2 separate regions of the Homo sapiens genome follow, and region 1 is linked to region 2. The links are contacts of gene promoters, found by promoter capture Hi-C in human tissues and cell types (Jung and others, 2019). All regions are on one chromosome and are shown on one strand. The core of a region is centred on a gene start or on the middle of the fragment in contact, and the rest is flanking DNA. Distances in the headings are between cores, read along the strand shown. Region 1 has its middle 4.7 kb from the start of LRP1. Region 2 holds the start of CNPY2 (canopy FGF signaling regulator 2).

Region 1 (7,054 bases), core at 4,537-7,036, 810 kb after region 2:
CACGCCCAGCTAATTTTTTGTATTTTTAGTAGAGACAGGGTTTCACCATGTTAGCCAGGATGGTCTAGATCTCTTGACCTTGTGATCCTCCTGCCTCGTCCTCCCAAAGTGCTGGGATTACAGGCGTGAGCCACCGTGCCTGGCATAATTTGCATTTTCTTAATAACTAAAGATGTTGAGTTCTTTTCTTTTTCTTTTTTCTTTTTATTTTTGAGACAGGGTCTCACTCTGTTGCCCAGGCTGGAGCACAGTGGCACAATCACTGCTCACTGCAGCCTCAACCTTCTAGGCTCAAGCAATCCTCCTGCCTCAGCCTTTTGAGTAGCTAGGACTGCAGGAATGCACCTCCATATCTAGATCATTTTTAAATTTTATTTATTTATTTATTTTGAGATGGAGTCTTGCTCTTGTTGCCCAGGCTGGAGTGCAATGGCACAATCTCAGCTCACTGCAACCTCTGCCTCCTGGGTTCAAGTGATTCTCCTGCCTCAACCTCCCAAGTAGCTGGGATTACAGGTGCCCACCACCATGCTCAGCTAATTTTTGTATTTTTAGTAGAGACAGGGTATGGCCACATTGGCCAGGCTGGTCTTGAACTCCTGACCTCGTGATCCGCCCGCCTCGGCCTTCCAAGGTGCTGGGATTACAGGCGTGAGTCACCACGCCCGGACTTTTTGTAGAGATGAGGTCTCGATATATTGCCTAGGCTGGTCTGAAACTGCTGACCTCAAGCGATCCTCCCACCTTGGCCTCCCAAAGTGCTGGGATTACAGGCGTGCACCACTGCACCTAGCCTCGAGTACCTTTCATATGCTTATTGTCCATTCATTGGGTTGTCATTTTATTACTATGTTATAGGAATTTTTAATATATCTCGCATTCCTCTGTCCCTTCTCAGATCAATGTTTTGTCTATCTATTTGGCTTACTTCCACATTTTCATAATAATGTCTTTTTTTTTTGAGTCAGGGTCTCACTGTCACTCAGGCTGGAGTGCAGTGGCACAATCAACTCACTGCAGCCTCTAACTCCTGGGCTCAAGCAATCCTCTCTTCTCAGCCTCTGGAGTAGCTGGGACTACAGGTGCACACCATCACACTCGGCTAATTTTTTAAATTTTTTGTAGTGACAGAGTCTAGCTTTGTTGGCCAGGCTGGTCTCAAACTCCTGGCCTCAAGCAGTTCTTCTATGTCAGCCTCCCAAAGTGCTGGGATTACTCCATAATGATGTCTTCTGACGAGCAAAAGTTTTCTATTTTGATGTTTCACTTATCAAGAAATTTATGTTATTGCTTTCTATAGCTTAAGAAGGGGTTGCTTTCCTCCAAATTATGAAGATATTCTGTGTTTTTGTCTAAAAGCTTTATGATTTTAGCATTTGTGGTTTAGGTCTATAATCAATCTTTTTTTTTAGACGGAGTCTCGCTCTGTCACCCAGGCTGGAGTGCAGTGGCGCGATCTCGGCTCACTCCACCCTCCACCTCCTGGGTTCAAGCAATTCTCCTGCCTCAGCCTCTTGAGTAGCTGGGATTACAGGTGCCCACCACCACACCCAGCTAATTTTTGTATTTTTATTTTTTTAATTAATTAATTTTTTTGACACAGAGTCTCGCTGTCACTCAGGCTGGAGTGCAGTGGTGTGATCTCAGCTCACTGCAACCTCCGCCTCTCAGGTTCAAGCGATTATCCTGCCTCAGCCTCCTGAGTAGCTAGGATTACAGGCATGCACCACCATGCCCAGCTAATTTTTGTATTTTTAGTAGAGACAGTGTTTTGCCATGTTGGCCAGGCTGGTCTTGAACTGAGCTCAGATGATCCACCCGCCTTGTCCTCCCAAAGTGCTGAGATTACAGGTGTGAGCCACCATGCCTGGCCTGTTAATTGTGTATTTTTAGTAGAAACAGAGTTTCACCATGTTGGGCAGGCTGGTCTTGAACTCCTGACCTCTGGTGATTCAACTGCTTCAGCCTCCCAAAGTGCTGGGATTACAGGTGTGAGCCACTGGGCCCAGCCTATAATCAATCTTGAATTAATTTTTGCATATGGTGTGAGGTAGGGGTCAAGGTTCATTTATTTCTCCCATATAGATATGAAGTTGTTCCATAACTATTTATTGAACAGACATTCCTTTCTCCACTGGCTGGCTTTGACATCTTTGCCAAAATCAAATGACCTTTACAGTGGGATCAGCCAGTTGGTGCAATACGAAGTCCCGCCTCTCATCCCCTCACAGAAACACAGATTTAACAATTTACTGATCAAAATACCTTTATGAGAAGTACAGAATCCGGTTGAGAAGTGTGGTACCCCAGACAAGTAGAGAGCTGAGAAAAGCTGCACTGAGATGGATCCTACATTCCTGGGTCTGGGAGTGGGCCTTTCCCAGAGATACCATCCTCCAGCAGTAAGAGACCTCCAATAGTCGGGTCTCAGACAGGTTCCAGCTAAGAGTAAAATCCCAGATCAATGGTGAAAAGGAGTTTAAGAATGGATGCTGAAGCCAGGCATGGTGGCATGTGTCTGTAGTCCCAGCTACTTGGGAAGTTGACAGGGGAAAATAGTTTAAGCCCAGGAGGTTGAGGCTGCAGTGAGCTATGATCATACCACTGCACTCCAGACTGGGCAACAGAGCAAAACTCTGTCTCAAAAAGAAAAACGAAGCCTGTGCCTAGTCAACATTGAAGCAAGAATGCAGAAGTTGCACAGGGTGAGATAGGGATGAGCAGGGTGGAGGGGTGGTAAACACAAAGGAATTGCAATAAGAAATCAAACAACTATCTGATTTTTTAAAATTATGTTGAGATATTTGGGGAAAATGATAGATGCATAGAAAACTAATCAAACGAAAAATAATTCCAAGATAAAAGTATATAAAAGTAACATTATAAAATAATAAACGCATATAGAATTTTTATTAAAAAATCAAATGATTGTGAGTCTATTTCTGGTTCTCTATTCTGCTCCATGGATCTGTTTGTCAATTCTCATGCTAGCACCACATAGTCTTGATTACTGTCACTTACAAGTCTTGAAATCAAGTAGCATAAATCCTCCAGCATTGATTCATTTATTTTTCTTTTTGAGACAGGGTTGCACTCTGTTACCCAGGCTGGAGTGCAGTGGCATGATCATGCAGTGATCAGGTTCACTGCAGCCTCAACCTCCTGAGCTCAAGCAATCCTCCCACCTTAGTCTCCTGAGTAGCTGGGCCTACAGATGCATGCCACCACAGCACTGGGATTTTTAAAAACTCTCCAGGTGATTCTAATGTGAGCCAAATTTTCTAGACTCAGATTTCTCTGTCACTATCTTCAGGCCTATACAGTTAACTGGTTAGTATACTAGATCCTACTTCTTTATTGTTTCTGAATCCTCTTCCTCTCCAGCTCCATCACTCATGCATTAAGGACTTCACCAATTTCTCAACTGGCTCTACACTACTTCTAGAAAAAAAATTCTAAGTCCTTACTGTGGCTAAAATCACGCTTTGTGATTAGGCTTTCTGATACTTCATCCAACACTCTCCCCTCAAAGTACCTTAAACTTCAGCTATGATACCATATTTGATGTTCTTCACATGTTTTAAACTTCTCATGCCTCCAATGCCTTTCCTGCCATCCAGCCTAAAACACCCTTTCCTTTTGTTATTGGTTGTCATTTTCTTCCTCTCATTCAACATTTAGCCTGGCATCATCTGCTGCTCTCTGTCTTGACCACCTTGTCTGGAAGAGGTATCCTTCCCATGTTCCCATGCCCTTCTGCACATGCCTTCATCACAGGTGTTAAGGAACTGACTGTATTGTCATTGTCTGTCTCTTGTTGAGCACCCAGCTAACCTGAAAGCTTCTTGAAGGCTGAGACTGTGTGTTTCCGTCTCTTATCCCTAGTGCCTAGCAATGTACTTGCTTATACGAGGTACCTAATATTTTTATTAAGTGAATGAAATCTGGGCTTGGATCTGCACCATTATTTGGGACAGATTCTTTAATCTCTCAGAACATTCTATTTTCTTATACACACTGGAAATAACACCCATGACAAAAGGTAGACTTAAGTGAGCTGATACTGTAAATAAAGTCCACTGCGTGGGCCTGGGACATGGTATGCGCTCAATAAATACTGGTCCTTTTCCCTCTCTCCGCCTGCCATCAGACCTTTCCGGGATACCCTTCCTACGCACACTTCCTTAACTGACCACTAGGTGGTGCTAGCCTCTGGCTTGACATTCAGTTCCAGAGCTACCCAATTAACGCCCCAGCCCAGGCCCTGCTATACTCAGAAAAGGCGGGTATTTTGTAATTTGCTGAGCGACCCGAAAAAAGAGATGCCCTTTACCCACACTAGCTTCTTTGCCCTCATCACCATTCCAGGTATCAATCATGAATTTCAGAGAATTCCTCCATGATTCCCTACTATTATGGTTATAATCTCAACCCAAGGATTTGAAGATGCCTCTTAAGAACAGATGTGGGGAGGAAGAGAAGGCACTGAGGCAGAGAGGATTAAACAATGAATGCTATAAGAGAAATAGAGGGAAGAAGATGCTTGAAGTCACATCCTGTTCCAGGAAAGGCAACTCTAGTCCTAACATTCCTTTCACCAATCAAGAGCCTCTCACGCTGGGTGGAAACGAAGAAGAAAAAGACATGGTCCCTGCCCTCAAGGAGTATATAGTCTAGTGGTGGATACAGAGCCCACAAAATAAAGTGCTAAACTCTGGATACTGAAGCTTTCCTGAATACAAGTTTGGAACAGGAGAGATAGGCAGAGCGAGAATAACAGGAGGGCTTTTCTGAGGAGGGTAGAGGAGCAGGGGAACTGTATCATTAATGGCTCAGATAGAAATATGCATTCTCAGCAGGGTGAGGTGGCTCACACCTGTAATCACAGCACTTTGGGAGGCCAAGGTGCATGGATCACCTGAGGTCAGGAGTTTAAGACCAGCCTGGCCAACATGGAGAAATCCCATCTCTACTAAAAACACAAAAATGAGCCAGGCATGGTGGTGGGTGCCTGTAATCTCAACTATTCGGGAGGCTGAGGCAGGAGAATCGCTTGAACCTGGGAGGTGGAGGTTGCAGTGAGCTGAGATCACACCACTGCACTCCAGCCTGGGCAACAAGAGTGCAACTCCATCTCAAAAAAAAAAAAGAAAGAAAGAAAGAAAGAAAGACATAAATATGCATTCTCTCACCTTACAGACATACCCTCAGCAGTTCACCTGCTGGAAATAACCCAAGTGCCCAACAATCCCAACAAACTGTGGAACATCCAAGCAAGGAGATTCCAAGTAGCCAAGATCAAAGGGTGAGCTAAATGCGTTCATACGGTATGGAAAGGGATCAAGCTAAGTTAATTGAAAAAAAGGCAAGTTACAGAACACTATATATCATATGAGTTTCTTTATAGTTTTAAAGGATATTCACTTATATTTGTATGTTACTGTTTTATTTATTTATTTATTTGAGACAGGGTCTCCCTCTGTTGCTCAGGCTGGAGTGCAGTGGCACGATCTCGGCTCACCACAACCTCCACCTCCTGGGTTCAAGCGATTCTCGTGCCTCAGCCTCCCCAGTAGCTGGGATTACAGGTATGCGTCACGATACGTGGCTCATTTTTGTATTTTTAGTAGATATGGGGTTCCGCCATGTTGGCCAGTGTGGTCTCGAACTCCTGAAAAGTGATCCTCCCACCTTCGTCTCCCAAAGTGTTGGGATTACAGGCATGAGCCACCACGCCTGGCCTGTATGTTACTGTTTTAAAAACTCTCCTGGCCGGGCACGGTGGCTCACGCCTGTAATCCCAGCACTTTGGGAGGCTGAGGAGGCCAGATCACGTGGTCAGAAGTTCGAGACCAGCCTAGCCAACATCGTGAAACCCCATCTCTACCAAAAATACAAAAAAAATTAGCTGGGTATAGTGGCGTGTGCCTGTAATCCCAGCTACTTGGGAGGTCAAGGCAGAAGAATCGCCGAACCCGGGAGGCAGAGGTTGTAGTGAGCCGAGATTAGGCCACTGCACTCCAACCTGGGCAACGGGGCAAGACTCCGTCTTGGGCGGGGGGGAAACCTCTGCTGGTAGGGGAGACCTGAAGAACTGTTAGTAGAAGTTACTCTGAGGGTGCAGCTGAAAAATGGGGGTGTGGAGAGCATCAAGTTTCCTTTTACTTTTTACCTTCCTGTACTTTTTTTAACCACTAGGTATTATCTTTTCTTTCTTTCTTTTTTTTTTAACAATATAAAGTTAATAAAAATACACATTCACATTCAGGAGACAGCAGGGGATGGGAGGTTGCAAGTGAGAAGTGCATGCTGACTGAGGCCAGGTTTTGGAAAGCCATGACTGAAGAGGAGTTCACATTTGACTGGTCTATAGACACCCACTAGAGGTTCCCCAGCAAGGAAGAGACACCGGGAAAGCAGTTTTTGGAAGATTCACCTGACAGATGGGTAGGGGGAGGGAGGAAAGCCCCTTCAAGCCCTCAGGCTACATGTGGTTGCTCCAGATACCGTTTTCCTCTCAAAGCTGTCAAGCTGTCTAAAGTCTGTTTCGACCTGATTTCACTTGGATCCCAATACTGGGAGGGGCCCTGGGAGGAACCTCGTAGGCATTTGGTGAGTCCGCATAGTGCGTCTCACATTGTGTTGGGCCATGGGAGCTGGATAAAAGGAGAAATAAGACCCCGTTCCTGCCTGGAGCAACTCTCTGGCAGTGGAAATGGAGGAAATCTGAGATATACTTCAGAGGAAAAAAATGACAAGCCTGGAGCACAGGCTGGCAAGATTGGATATAGGAAGGAAAGGCCCCCTTGAGTTGGCATAAAGTCTGAGGTTTCTAGCCCAGGAGACTAAAGGCAGGTGGCCACCGCGCTGAGCAAAGCCGGCTGGAAGAAGCTAAAGGTTGAGCTCACTGTCATTAGGAGGCAAGTCCTTCGTGCTGCTCCTGTTTCTGCCAAGGACAGACTGGAGTGGGGACTTTTCCGTAACTAGAACGTAAAAGGGGGAACAGTCCCTCCTCTCCAGCGTCAATTTTTGGCAGCCGACGTCGTCTGCCCCG
Region 2 (7,491 bases), core at 4,521-7,020:
TATTGAGTGGGCACTGACTGAAAGCTTATCTAGTTTATGAGTGGAGTGGAATCTCAGAAGGTAGAAGAATTAAAGGTTCAGGCCTCTCCTACCTTTATCCTGTATCAATCCCAAAACTCTTCTTTCTCCTCCATTATCTTTCCTGTCTATATAACTCCTTATCTTCAAGCTTAATGTAAGGGCAATTCCAGGCATGAAAAGACAACACAGTTTGTACTTTTGGTTTCATATTTTTTCAGTTAATTTCAGTAAAAACATAATATATAAAAGGCATTGCCACCATTTTCCCCTCCTGGGGGTGATCCATCAAGCCAGTGTGGGCTGCTCCAGTGGTTCATAGCTCATCATGCGATATGTGCAGGGCATGGTCACAAAGATCTGCAAATGGCAAACAATTTAAAGGAATATGCCATTCTCATACTGATATCTGCCAGTATCAAGAAAATTTCCCAGACCAAGCTGACACAAACACACACCAACCACCATTCTGCAGAATATATGCTTATAAATGATAAAACATCCCCACTGTCCTCTCACCTGTATCTCAGGGTCAAGGGGACACAAATTCTGAAAGCTGACAGAAAATGTGGAGGAACACCCCAAGTCCCTAAGCCAAGGGAAATGGAAGACAGCTCTTGACCTAATACCAGAGGTTTCTGGGATGGGGGTGTATGGGTGAGTTAGGGAATGTCAGGTTCCACAGAGCTACTAGAACAGGAGATAAAGTGGGGGCAGCTTACCTGTTCGCTTACTGCAAAGTTTGTCTTTAACATTGTCAGCCTCTCGGGAAAAGAATTCAATGAGTTCATCCTCGTATTCCTCCACAATGCTCTCACACTGCCAACCCAAGGGAGAAATGGGTGACACAGGGCAATAAGAGGCCTCTTGCCTTCACTTCCAAAGAGGAGGACAAGGATATCAGCCTAACTTTCTAATTGGTTCTCCAACAACCCCTTAATGTCCAAGAACCAGCTACCGATTCCCATAGCTCACCGCAAACTTGAGGGTGCCGCTAATATCTGAGTCGATTCGGATGCCTTGTAGGTCCAGTTCACTGGATTCTCCATTCCGGCCCACTACACGTACGTAGTTCTTGCGATGGGTGGAAGGATCAATCTGTTCCCCATACTCCTTCATCCGGTCACATATCTCCTCCAGCAGCTCTGTGAGGTGGGCCTCTGAGCGGGCATAAGGCACCTAGAAATGTCCTCAGCCTTGGGTCACTCTCTTCTACCTCTGTACATTAGTAATTTATATCCTTACTTTTCTTTCCAAATCTAGCTCCAACAACCTATTCTAAAAAGCTTTCCCTAATTGATTTTAATTAGTTTTGTTTGTTTGTTTGTTTTTTGAGATGGGGTTTTGCTCTTGTTGCCCAGGCTGGAGTGCATTGGCGCCATCTCGGCTTATTGCAACCTCTGCCTCCTGGGTTCAAGTGATTCTCCTGCCTCAGCCTCCTGAGTAGCTGGGACTACAGGCATGCACCACCACACCCAGCTAACTTTTGTATTTTTAGTAGAGATGGGGTTTCTCTGTGTTGGTCGGGCTGGTCTCAAACTCCAGACCTCAGGTGATCTGCCTGCCTCGGCATCCCAAAGTGCTGGGATTACAGACGTGAGCCACTGTGCCTGGCCTAGTGTGGTTTTCATTTATTTTATTTTATTTATTTATTTATTTTTTTGAGACGGAGTCTCACTCTTTCGCCCAGGCCGGACGCAGTGGCACTATCTTGGCTCAGTGCAAGCTCCGCCTCCAGGGTTCACACCATTCTCCTGCCTCAGCCTCCCGGGTAGCTGGGACTACAGGCGCCCACCACCACGCCCAGCTAATTTTTTGTATTTTTAGTAGAGACGGGTTTCACCGTGCTAGCCAGGATGGTCTCGATCTCCTGACCTAGTGATCCGCCCACCTTGGCCTCCCCAGGTGCTGGGATTACAGGCATGAGCCACCGCGCCCGGCCTGGTTTTAAATTAATATGGTTTACTTGATAGTTTCAAAGTACTTCTTTTTTTTTTTTTTTTTTTTTTTTTTGAGACAGGCCTCACTCCGTTGCCCAGGCTGGAGTGCAGTGGTGTGATGACTGAGGCTCACTACAGCTTGGATCTCCCAGGCTTAGGTGATCCTCCCATCTCAGCCTCACACAGATGCACACCACCACACCCAGCTACTTTTTTATATTTTTTTTGTAGAGACGGGGTCTTGCCATGTTGCCCAGGCTGGTCTCGAACTCCTGTGCTCAAGTGATCTGCCTGCCTTGGCCTCCAAGAGTGCTGGGATTACAGGTATGAGCCACTGTACTTGGCAGTAGTTTCAACTATATGATTTTATTTTACCTCATTGTACAATTCTTTTTTTTTTTCTTTTTTTTTTTGAGATGGAGTTTCACTCTTGTTGCCCAGGCTGGAGTGCAATGGCGCGATCTCGGCTCACCGCAAGCTCCACCTCCCGGGTTCAAGTGATTCTCCTGCCTCAGCTTCCCGAGTAGTTGGGATTACAGGCATGTGCCACCACGCCCAGCTAATTTTGTATTTTTAGTAGAGACGGGGTTTCTCCATGTTGGTCAGGCTGGTCTCAAACTCCCAACTTCAGGTAATCCACCCGCCTCAGCCTCCCAAAGTGCTGGGACTACAGGCATGAACCACCGTGCCCGGCACCTCATTGTACAATTCTAAGAAACAAGACAGTTAACATTAGCTCCAAGTTATAAACAGAATTTTTTGATTAACCTGATCAACTTATACTTCTAATTTCTATAGATGAAGATAATTTTTTTTTAAATTATAGTTTAAGTTCTGAGATACATGTGCAGAACGTGCAGGTTTGTTGCATAGGTATACATGTGCCATGGTGGTTTGCTACACCCATCAACCTGTCATCTACATTAGGTATTTCTCCTAATGCTATCCCTCCCCTAGCCCCCAACACCCCAACAGGACCTGATGTGTGACGTTCCCCTCCCTGTGTCCATGTGTTCATTAATATTTTATTTTTGGCCGGGCGTGGTGGCTCACGCCTGTAATCCCAGCACTTTGAGAGGCCGAGGAGGGTGGCTCACTTGAGGTCAGGAGTTCGAGACCATCCTGACCAACATGGAGAAACCCTGTCTCTACTAAAAATACAAAATTATCCAGGTGTGGTGGTGCATGCCTGTAATCCCAGCTACTCGGGAGGCTGAGGCAGGAGAATCGCTTGAACCCGGGAGGCAGAGGTTGCGGTGAGCCGAGATCGTGTCATTGCACTCCAGCCTGGGCAACAAGCCCTAAACTCCATCTCAAAAAAATAATAATAATTTTGTTTAAATTGAGACTAATATCCTCAGTAAGCACAGTATTAAAGATGTAGTGTAGGCTCTGTGAACAACAGCTATTAAAGTACCATAATCTTTTTTCTTTTCTTTTTTTTTTTTTGAGAGGAGTCTCGCTGTGTCGCCCAGGCTAGAGTGCAGTGGCACCATCTCAGCTCACTGCAAGCTCTGCCTCCCGAGTTCACGCCATTCTTTTCGTCTCAGCCTCCTGAGTAGCTGGGACTACAGGCACCCACCACCACGCCCGGCTAATTTTTTGTATTTTTAGTAGAGACGGGGTTTCACCATGTTAGCCAGGATGGTTTCGATCTCCTGACCTTGTGATCTGCCCACCTCAGCCTCCCAAAGTGCTGGCATTACGGGCGTGAGCCACCGCGCCCGGCCTTTTTTTTTTTTCAAGACAGAGTTTTGTTCTTGTCAACCAGACTGGAGTGCAGTGGTGCGATCTTGGCTCACTGCAACCTCTGCCTCCTGGGTTCAAGTGATTCTCCTGCCTCAGCCTCCTGAGTAGCTGGGACTATAGGCATGAGCCACCACGCCTGGCTACTTTTTTGTATTTTTAGTAGAGACGGAGTTTCACCATGTTGGCCAGGCTGGTCTCGAACTTCTAACCTCAGGTGATCCGCCTGCCTTGGCCTCCCAAAGTGCTGGGTTTTGGTTTTTTTTTGAGACAGGGTCTTGCTGTGTTTCCCAGGCTGGAGTGCAGTGGCACAATCACGGCTTACTGCAGCCTCGACCTCCTGGGCTCAAGTGATCCTCCCACCTCAGCCTTCCAAGCAGCTGTCACTACAGGCACATGCCACCATGCACTGCTAACTTTTGCATTTTTTTGTAGAGTTGGTGTTTTGCCATGATGCCCAGGCTAGCACTGTAATCTTAACACTGCCTTATATATTGCTTATTAGATACACCTTTGTGTACATGTGTGTTGTTTTCGATTAAAATTTCCTAATTATGAGGATAAGACCTTTTATTCTTATTTCTGTTTTTTCATTTTTTATTTTTAGCTCCGACTCAGATTTTGAACGGATGTTTGCATGTATACCACAGTGCTACATTAAAAACCAGTCATGTGGATGTGGAGAAGGGTGCTGATCAGGACTCCCTGTTTGCTAACAAATTCTACAGCAGAAACAAAGTATTAAGGTTTGCAGCCAGGAAGCAAGTGCATGGGGAATAAGCCTGCAGCTTCTTCCAAATGAGACAGAGCCAAATCTTTTTTCTGAGTCTGTTTTCTTCATTTCTATTAAACCAAGGTCCTTTTTAAGCAGTCGAATTTCATCCAAAGCCAGAGTGAGCTACTTTGTTTGGGGGAACAGTAACAGTTACCTCCACCACTGACTGGCTGCCATCTGGATTGATCCGGAAAGATCCCATCTGAATGGTCTTCTTGGGGTCCACCTGGGCAATTTCCCATTCTAGTTCATCCACCAGAGCCCTGCATGCTGGTGGAAGAGGAGAGAATGAGAGCAGGGGACAGGGTAGGGGGTAGGGTGTGAGGAGAATGGGATCAACCCAGGATTTCCATTCATCCTTCTCCCAGGCCTTGGATCTCATGCCCTCCCAAGGCTCTGCTTCCTCCACTTCTTTTTCCCGTTGTGCCTTTACCTCCACAGTGGAGATCCTGGCTCCTCCGAGCCCAGGCGGTTCCCAGCAGGGCCCCCAGAAGCAGGGCCAGCCAACCCCAGCCTTTCATCTTTAGCGTAATGGGGTCGCTCCACCTGGGTTTGAGTGGGAATAAAACATAAGTGTGAGGAGCCGACTCCATTTTTCCCTGACCCCCCCAATCCTCACCCCAAGGCTTTCAAAGGCCTCATTGTGACTCTGGCTCTACTTTCCAGGAAATGGCCGGGACACAAAGGGGCTTCTCTGTTCCAGCGCTTGAGGGCTCTGATTCCCCCAGGGTGGTGGGTGGGAGCGCGAGCTCAGGACTTGCGGCTCAGCCCCAGACTCTACGTGGATAGGTGAGGCCCTAAGTGTTGGTACTTTAGCACTGCATGCCTAGGGTTCACGGGGCTTTGTGGCAGCTACAGGAGGTAAGTTGGCGATTACGTGAGGACTACAGGCACTAGGGAACTGCCGGCAGGGAGCCCTCAGTCAGGCCAGGAGGCCAGCGAGGAGAGCAATAACTAGGGCCCATTTGGATCCTGCACCGAAGATTCCTGCGTCCCCACCTCCAGCCCGTAAGTGATTACCCGTACGGACACCAGCCCCCTTTCTAAGGACTCCGCCATTGCTTTCGCTTCAGTCCATCCCCAACCCTCAGCGCCCAGCGCCTCGCCGCCCGCATCCGTCCCACCTCTGCTCCCAGGGCCGCCGCCGTGGCCCAAGCGCTGGAAGACCGCTGGACTCTCACTTTGGCCCCAGTGGCTCCCGAAACTACACCTGGCTGCAGGGAGCAGGGCTGTCCGGGATTCTCCAGAGCGCTTCGCCGCCTGCCACACACGGGGTGTCCCGGCGACCGCCTGACCCAGCTCCCCTGACGCTAACTGGTACCTAAGCGGGACTCCAGCGTGCTGCGGTGCGAGCCCCAATCAGACACCGACCCCAAACCCGCCCCTCCAAACTCTCGCGCGAACAGGCAGCTTAGGAGAGGCTCCCGAACAGCAAGGACCCCGGTCAATCGCCGAAGGACCCAGACTTGCGTGGCGAACAGATCCACGTGACCACCAGGGGTCAGCCGTAGAATAGGAGTGGCCTTAAGCGACGACAGAGTCCGGGCGTGCTGTATGGGAGCGGCTAGTCGTGCGCGTGAGCCAGCCCAGGTGGGCTAGGACCTTCAAAACGGTGCGCTGCCGGCCAGCGAGCAGTCCAGGTTTCAATACACAGGAAACTACATCTCCCAGGAAGCACCGCAGCACCGGACCCATCTTTGTGAGCAACTACAAGTCTCAAGCTATCCTGGGACCTGTAGTTTGTCGGCTTACACAATTAACGGAAACCATACTGTACATCTTCAGTCTGACTTAGGGTACTGGGCAGCTATAGCAAAGACCCAGCATTGCCCAGAAAAGGCATAAATTATACCTTTTTCCCCTTTTTTTGAGACGGAGTCTCGCCCTATCGCCCAGGCTGGCATACAGTGGCGTGATCTCGGCTCACTGCAACCTCCGCCTCCCGGGTTGAAGCAATTTTCTGCCTCAGCTAGGGTTACAGTCGCCATCCACCACTCCCAGCTAATTTTTGTATTTTTAGTAGAGACGGGGTTTCACCATCTTGGTCAGGCTGGTCTTTAACTCCTGACCTCGTGTTCCACCCACCTCTGCCTCCCAAAGTGCTAGGATTACAGAAGTGAGCCACCGCGCCCGGCCTAATTATACCCTTTCATATCCATAACTTTGGATTCCGGACCTTTACCTTCAAAGGAAGGAGAGGAAGACTGAAGCCAGAGAACCCACACTAGCAGTTCTCTAATGAGATAAATAACAAACGATATTTTATTTTTATTTTATAAAACATGCAGTTTACAACAAATTTTTAAAAAATGGAACAAAACTTGGGACAGGCAAGTGGGATGGAAGACAGATGCTTCTCAGCCATCAGCAGGAATAAATGAAGCCGGCAGCCAAGCTTTGTCCAGGATCCAAAGGCCCTTTTGGCAATGGTATTGGCAACACTGGTTTGCTTGGGCCACCAACACTCTACTTGCTGGCCCCTCCAGGTATCCCTGAAGCAGTTGGTGACTTGTGCTAAGTCTTGAACTACTGTGGTATCCTCTGTCACTGTCCAGGACTTCAATCCCTAGCCAGCTAGGAACTTACAGTTATGGTTCCAGGAGCTTCTCTGCCTGGATATTAGTCACCCAGGATATTAAGAATACCAATTACTTTCCATCTGGGTCAATTCTAGACTCCATGTCTGTACCACTGTTTTGCAAAGAATGAAGAAGGAATGAATCTGGCTCCTAGAACCTTTGCAACAATTCTGCTGTGTTCCAGTTCAATTAATAGCACCATCTGTGACCCTAGACCCTGAGCACGTCCAGTACTGGAAGTGGACAAGGTATAGCCAACTTAGGAAGCCATCTCCCAGTTCTGGGGCTATAGAACAGTAAAGGGAGAGGGCCGTGGTTCTTTGGGAAGGGTAGTCAGAGCGCCAGCACTGAGGAGAAGACAGCTGCATCTGTCAGAGACAAAACCAAAAGCATGATTCAAGCTGAGTGGAGAAAAAGCATCTTCTCATACTTC

What was found. The method cuts DNA at HindIII sites, captures the fragments that hold promoters and counts their contacts. A contact is called where the count stands out against the background at its distance.
Region 1: a contact is called between a fragment that was not itself captured here and the fragment with the promoter of CNPY2 in region 2, in 1 of the 25 tissues and cell types used here (hippocampus).

Annotation. Positions count from the first base shown.
Region 1 is chr12:57,120,254-57,127,307 of GRCh38, forward strand. No RefSeq gene overlaps it. Among named protein-coding and RNA genes, the nearest start is that of LRP1, 4.7 kb to the right of the region's middle. The HindIII fragment of the contact is 3,004 bases long and covers 4,285-7,054 here.
Region 2 is chr12:56,310,218-56,317,708 of GRCh38, forward strand. CNPY2 (canopy FGF signaling regulator 2) reads right to left here and starts at 5,771. Exons shown (of 6, transcript NM_014255.7): 1 at 5,604-5,771; 2 at 4,913-5,025; 3 at 4,634-4,749; 4 at 994-1,197; 5 at 741-837; 6 at 1-378. The coding sequence starts at 5,000. The coding sequence ends at 335. It overlaps PAN2 (poly(A) specific ribonuclease subunit PAN2), which reads right to left. Exons shown (of 26, transcript NM_014871.6): 26 at 6,719-7,426. The coding sequence ends at 7,392. It overlaps CNPY2-AS1 (CNPY2 antisense RNA 1), which reads left to right and starts at 1,197. Exons shown (of 2, transcript XR_002957416.2): 1 at 1,197-2,282; 2 at 4,312-4,591. RefSeq lists enhancers at 5,756-6,344, 5,845-5,894, 5,975-6,124. The HindIII fragment of the contact is 7,285 bases long and covers 737-7,491 here.